Regions from separate parts of the Homo sapiens genome. Here region 1 is linked to region 2. Evidence: promoter capture Hi-C in human tissues and cell types (Jung and others, 2019). All regions are on one chromosome and are shown on one strand. Each heading gives the region's core, a stretch centred on a gene start or on the middle of the fragment in contact. The rest is flanking DNA. Distances are from core to core; before and after follow the strand shown. Region 1 overlaps FMN1 (formin 1). Region 2 holds the start of SCG5 (secretogranin V).

Evidence for each region. Contacts are between HindIII fragments. The study calls those that stand out against the background at their distance.
Region 1: a fragment that was not itself captured here is called in contact with the fragment with the promoter of SCG5 in region 2 in 1 of the 25 tissues and cell types used here (H1 embryonic stem cells).

Annotation. Positions count from the first base shown.
Region 1 is chr15:32,836,090-32,839,447 of GRCh38, forward strand. The region is part of intron 17 of FMN1 (formin 1); the gene reads right to left. It also overlaps the pseudogene LOC107984761. Among named protein-coding and RNA genes, the nearest start is that of GREM1-AS1, 120 kb to the left of the region's middle. The HindIII fragment of the contact is 4,749 bases long and covers 1-3,358 here.
Region 2 is chr15:32,639,542-32,643,129 of GRCh38, forward strand. It overlaps SCG5 (secretogranin V), which reads left to right and starts at 2,169. Exons shown (of 6, transcript NM_001144757.3): 1 at 2,169-2,237. The region is part of intron 9 of ARHGAP11A-SCG5 (ARHGAP11A-SCG5 readthrough); the gene reads left to right. ARHGAP11A (Rho GTPase activating protein 11A) reads left to right here. Exons shown (of 12, transcript NM_014783.6): 12 at 1-400. RefSeq lists enhancers at 1,662-2,302, 2,303-2,941. The HindIII fragment of the contact is 11,081 bases long and covers 1-3,588 here.

The DNA.
Region 1 (3,358 bases), core at 394-2,893, 200 kb after region 2:
GCCTCAGGTGATCCTCCCACTTTAGCCTCCCAAAGTCCTGAGATTACAGGTGTGAGCGACTGCTCACAGCTGGGATTACAAGGCTGCTCACTAGCAGCCTTGTGCTTTTAGGAAGAAAGGGACTAGATTTCTGATGTAGCTCTGCTTCCAAACAAACCCAAACTCATTCAAATTCACAAACTCTAAAAGGTGATGCCTTCCCTCTGAGAATGTCCAAAGTCACAAAGCCAACTGCATGGCGGTTTGGGAATGGCAAAACTTTTAAAAGCTTTTGGTATCATAATTTACTTTTATTTAGGAGGATAGTATAGTTCACATTTTCTCCTTTTTCACAGGTTCTATTTAGTGTCATTTATAGTAGCAATAATTCATATTCTAACTTAGCTTTACCTCAGCAACTCTTTCTCCCCTTACTTTTAGTCTCAGTACTACAAATGCCCGCATGCTTTCTCCCCAGAACCGAGGCCTTCATATTTTTCTCCCTAAGCTGTATATGTCTTACAAACTTGTAAAATGAATGTAAATGAATGTAAAACTTTCCCCTTGTTTGGTGAAGAACAAGAGGATACACCCATTGCTTGAGCATACATCTCCCTCAGTCTCTCTCTTTTTTTTTAGAATGCAAAGTATTTTCTTTTTAAACTTTTAAAATCTGAAAACAAGCTAGCCTATGTTAAATAACATAGTTTCCAAAGCTGAACGTGCTCACTTGGAGCCCAGTTTTCTGCTTCAAATACAAACACAACTTCCTGACACTCCTAGGTGGGAACACTACTGTTTGACGATCTGTGATTAGATGAACTGATCGATCTCAGTGGGTAACATTCCTTTATTTTTTCCTTGGTAAAGGTTTAAAAATTCTAAAATAGATGCATTTTTTTTTTTTCAGTTTTACACTGACAATTTCATTCCAATTGTCTCCTGGGAGACACAGACCATGTACAGGAATCCATCTTCATCCTTCTCACTCTGCTACAATGCTGTGTCTGTTCACCGCCAGGAGGAAGGCTTGATTAGCACTGAGCTGGAAGGACCTTCTAATGATCTTGATGAGCTCACTCAGGTTGATGTGGTCCAGTACAAGGAACATTGCTTTATCCAGGACGGGAAGCTGCTTCTCAGCCTTGTATCGTTCTGTTACTACCAAGATTTTGGGTGGATGCTGCTCTCGGAGAAGTCAAACTTCTACTCTTTGTTCAAAGGTGTGGTGTGGCCTGAAGGTCTTCTCTGATGTCATGGTGCAGGGATCTGGGTGGTGGTGGCGACATAAGGGTTCTGGCGGCTCCTGGGGGTGGCGGTGGCAGTGAATCTAACTCTGGCGACAGTGACTTCTCTTGTCTCCCTCAGTCTCTTTATTATATGCTTGATCCATCAGAAAGTCTCAAGGTTCTATGCACCTCAGCAACCCCAGTGATAAGGCAAGGGGTTCATGGACTGAGTCCTGAAGCCCTCTTGTGTTTAGAGATTGGGAAGATGAAGAACCAGCTTAGGAGATTGAGGAATGCCCATGAAGTAGAGAGAAGACAAAAGAGGGTTAGGACCTAAAGCAAGAAGGAGTTTTCAATCCATCATTTGATCAGCTATATCTAATGCTCCTGAAAGGTGGAGTAAGATTTTGCGTCAGATATATAGGGTCTTTTAGACTGGAATAGTGTCTGATTCTTCTTTTTTTCCTCAGAGTCTCACATATAGTAGATAACTTATAAATGCTGAATGAACAACTGAAAAAGAATAGTAGTGATTGGTCACAGAGAATGGGATGTGCTCTCTGTTAATTCCTTGCCCATCAACAGATGCCCATCCTAGGGCAAAATGGGAGAAAGACTATCATTTCCACAGTCCTCATGCTGAATGGATCCCAAGTGCTATTGCCTCATTTATGTAGCATGATCCAGAGACACTTCCAGTCTGAAGAACTTCAAAGGTTTTAGGAGGCTGAGGTGGAGGGCTCGGGGAGCAATGAAGGCAAGAGGGAAAGGGATGAACAACCACAATAAAAGGCCGGCACGTTCACAACAATGTTGGGCAAAGACAGTGATTCCTGAATATGAAGGAATCTGGAGAGCGAGTCACAAGAAACTGAAAACATAAGGGGGTGGAGGAGATGCTGAGAGAAAACAGAAAGCTATGAAAGAAGGCAGACGCTCAAACCGAGGTAAGAGAGAAAAAATTAAAAGCGGAAGGGGAGAAAGAAAAAAAATCGGAGAGGTGAGGCCAATGTATGGAAAAAGAGCAAAGGAAACACAGGGCCATTGTCTGATGCTGAGAACAGTCTGGAGACTGAGCAACTGGTGCCCGATTTCTGTGCATCTCAAGAGGAGATAAATGGCAGATTGAAGGGACCCTCTTGGCATTCTGGATCCAAGAGGAAAACATAGCAGGCGCAGTGAATGCTCAAGTAAACACAAACAGCAGCAGCCGTGGGGTTACGAGTGACCTGACTGCAGGCTCTGTCCTCTCCTGGCCTCCAGCCTGTGTGTACAACACACATGCCCGCTTAAAGCCCCGCTTAAAGCGGGAGGGCAAAAATCTCCTGCAACTGGGTGACCTCTGTTGTCAGCATTTGGCTAATTAAGGAAAGATATTACCCTACAGATCTCTATGCCTTGGTCCTACTTCCTGCTCATTAAAAAATGGTTTAATGAGAAAAAAATCAAGGCAACAGAATCCAAATTATTATTTTTTCTCCCAAATGAGCTGAATGACAGTGGCTGTTGCCAGAACGCTTGAACAATAGGATTGTGACACGAAGACTGAAATCTAAACAACATGAAGAAATCTCGAGAGCCCAGCAGTCCCCATTATCTCATGCTTGCACGACGATAGTCCAAAAGATGAGTGATGAGTCTCCATTTGTGCAAGCACAGCAGCAGTCCAAGGCCCTGACACAGCCACTAATTGCCCATCTGCTTGTTTACACAGCCCAGAGATGGTGACTGGACAAACAGTTCATTTCCCTTGAAACGGGACCAAACTGGGAGGAGCCTGTCACATGGGACAGAGGAGGACTAGGAAGAACTCTCATGAGAAAGTGCCCCCAGATCAAAGCCAAGGACCAGCAAGCCAAGCAAAGATGGGTTCCAGCGGCTGGCTTCTCACAGGCAGCTTCGGGTCTACCGCTTTCTGCACCCTGCCCACCCACTCCCAGCAGAACTGGAACCCCTCTCCCTGAGGACAGGACATTTTGAACCATTCACGTAAAAGTCTCAACCACGGAGCGTCAGCACCAACCCACCCTTCAGGCGTTGGCAGCAAGGACAACTGTGTTCAGGTGAACTTCTAGCCCTTTCAGACTTCACTGGATGCTTGGCATTTGCTACACTAGTTCCCATTTTAGTGTTCTGCTTGTCTCGTAGAC
Region 2 (3,588 bases), core at 919-3,418:
GGATGAAATGTTGAATTTGAAGACTAATTCAGTAAGAAGTCCTAGGGGTTTAACTGTACATACTACCTGAACTGGCTTTTCTGAGAGATGAATCAATAATGAAACATGTCTGTTTTAAAAACTACCACATGTGACTCCTATTTTTGTTAGCTGAAAGCTGCTATACGGAGTATTACAGGAATGTGAAGGTGACTAGCTTGAAGGTAGGGTAACTAGAGAGCCAGAAAAGTTTTGTTTTAAACTTGATTTAATGCGTTTTTATTTTTTCTTATACAAAATAGAGATAATGTTGCTAACTTCATGGAATATTTGAGGAAATGATATGAAAGTGTCTGGACGTGCAGTAACCTCATGGGTTCTTCTCACTGTCTTATAAATGTAAATAAAGATCTAATATTAATTTGGTTATCTAATAACAACTTAATACATAGAACTTAGTAGACTGCATGGCCACATTCTATAATATGATCACTAAGAACTTAATGTAGGATTTTAATAGTCATGTTTTTCTTAATTGTGGCAGAATTTAAACCTTAATTTTGTGATCTTTTTTAGTTAGTTTGTTTTTTGTTTTCTTTTCTTTTTTTTTTTTTTTTTTTTTTGAGGCGGAGTCTCACTCTGTCGTCCAGGCTGGAGTGCAGTGGCACAATCTCAGCTCACCGCAACCTCCATCTCCCGAGTTCAAGCGATTCTTCTGCCTCAGCCTCCCAAGTAGTTGGGACTACAGGCATGCACCACCACGCCCAGCTAATTTTTGTAGTTTTAGTAGATACGGGATTTCACCATATTGGCCAGGCTGATCTCGAACTCCTGACCTTGTGATCCTCCCACCTTGGCCTCCCAAAGTGTTGGGATTATGGGCGTGAGCCACTGCACCTAACCTCTGTGATCTCTTAAATATATATGAAGTTTTATTTTTGAAACACCAAATTTCAAATGAAGCATAGGCATTTTGATCTATTTCAGTTAAATTTAACACAAAAGCAGTAAATTGTAGTGACTTCATTTTTTTCAACCACAAAATGAAGATAACAATGAACAAAGCTAAAGTAAAACTCAGAATTGAAAAAAGTCTCTGTGCATCAATAATAAATACTAACTCCAGCATGGCCAGTGAGCCTAGAGCCATTTAATGGATAGTGTTTGTCCTGTTGATTTAGCATGCATTGAAACAAGAAGCAAGAAGCAGATGAGCATCCGTGAAAGAAAAAGTACTGGGAAAGAGGCTTGGCTTCAAAATGAAAGGCCATGTGTCTCATAAATGAATTTTGCCAGCCTCTATTTATTGCATAAAAATTGCTGTAGATGATAATGGATTTGCTCTCTAGAGCTAAGATAAATAGATCTGGATTCTAACCTCATCAGGTTACTTGTTTTGAGACCCCCAGGTTCTTTACTCATCCTCCATCTTGATCAAATTTGTAGTGCCATATTTATTGTATGGCTTTACATTTTGATTTTAGTATTTGAACAAATTTCAGTGTTCAAGATTGCACATAGTAGGTGCTCCATAAACCCTTATTTAAGAATCTGGGACTACCTGGACATACTTCTACAGTATGCTGGGAGTATGGTTTCTCTTCAGGCCAAAGTGGAATTTTACTTGATGGTTTGTGTGGACGTTTAGAAATAACACTCAGAGCTGATATTTCTACAGATTTTCAAGTTTATCACTTTAATGGAAGTTTCTGGCTTCTTGTATTAAATATCCCCATAGTTTTCCTGATTAGTAAGAGGCCCCTCAGAGCAGGGTATACCTTATCATAGCCACCATTAAAAGTTCTTAGGACTTCATCTTTTGTCTCTCTACCATTCATTGCCTCTTCCCTCTTGAAGCTGAAAGGCTTTAGACACAAAAACAAAAAACATATTCTAGAAGTTGACAAAATTAAAGGTGTGCTGTAGTGGTGATCTGGCACGTTGTAATTGAGACTGAGGAGGTGAATGACTTACATGGAGGTCGATGGAGCTGAAGAGGGTCTCTAGGAAATGTCATAGTCAAGAGGTTTGTATGCAGAATGTGGGGGTTGAAGAGCTGTGCGGCTCCTGGTGAGAGGCACACTTATCTGGGATGCAGTCTGGGGAGTCCTGGCGAGGCAGCTTCCACCTGCTGGAGGAGGGGCCGGGGCGGAGCTAAGATGCGGAGGAGGGTGACGCACTAGCTCTCCAGTTCGCCCGTTCCTGGCCTGACCCCCACCAAGGCCCATACCGCAGTAGGCTCCTCGGGCTGCCCCTCGGTGAGTACAGTTTTGATGTCGGCTCGGCCGCCTGCCGCCAACCCGAGATTTGGTATTGCCAGTTGTGGGAGGGCGTCCTGCTAAAATCCTTGAGGTGGAGGCTGGGGTCAGACGAAGGATGCGTAGGGGATTAGAATGTTTGGCTATCAGTAAGGGGAAGGGAGTACTGAGGGAGGAGATTGTGTAGTTCATCAAATCAGAGCGGCGTTTGCTGGGATGACATCCTGCATTCAGAGTGGACAAGGGAAAGATGGAGATGGAGAGCCTCGTGTCTGCCTCCAGCCTTTTCCATCAGAATTGCAGATTTTGCTGTTAAACAGCTACTCTCAGCTCTTTGGAGAGCAAGGTTTTATATCTAGTGGCTAGAAAAGGCCTTTTCTTTGCAGAAAAAGAAATTGGAGGGTATAAAAATTTTTGTTTCAGTAAAGGAAATGCACGATTTTGCCTCCTCCCACCTCTCCATCCCCCATCCTCAGTAGAAGAATGATTAGAAGGAGGGTTTGCGCCGGTCCTGGTGGCTCACGCCTGTAATCCTAGCGCTTTGGGAGGCTGAGGGGAGGGGGTGGATCACCTGAGGTCAGGAGTTCGAGACCAGCCTGACCAATATGGTGAAACCCTGCCTCTATTAAAAATACAAAAATTAGCCGGGTTTGGTTGTGGGCGCCTGTAATTCCAGCTACTCGGGAGGCTGAGGCAGGAGAATCACTTGAACCTGGGAGGTGGAGGTTGCAGTGAGTCGAGATGGCGCCACTGCACTCCAGCCTGGGCAACAAGAGTGAAACTCCGTCTCAAAAAAAAAAAAAAAAAAAAAAAAAAAGGGTTTGCAAGGCCGCTGCCTGAAGCATGCATCCAAACACGTTAAGCAGCTGTGGGGTAAGCTGCAAGGATAATGTTCACTTGTTTTGCAGACATACCCATAGAAACCAACATTTTGGACAGGTTGACCCTCCCACCCCCAGGCTAGTTAACTCCCTCTCACCACCACTGCCTCCCCATATTCTAACCTCCAGAACTGTTAAGGCAATGTTAGCAACATAATAATAGCAATATAGGGGCTCATTCTGTGCCTGGCATTGTCCTAAACACTCTTAACATGTATTTGCACACACCCTCACAACAACCCTAAAAGGTAAATGCTTTAATTATCTCCGTTTTGCAGAGGAGGAAACTGAGGGACTTGCCTACGATCACTCAGCATGTGGCTGAGCAAACAAACCTCAAACTACCCCAGCAGATTGCAGGGCTGGATCTAAGGAACATTTTCCTTCCTTTCAGGATCGCAAACGTATTGGATGTTTGCTAAACTGAAATGTTTCCCTGCCACCACTCCCAACCTTCCTGAGCTTCTTGA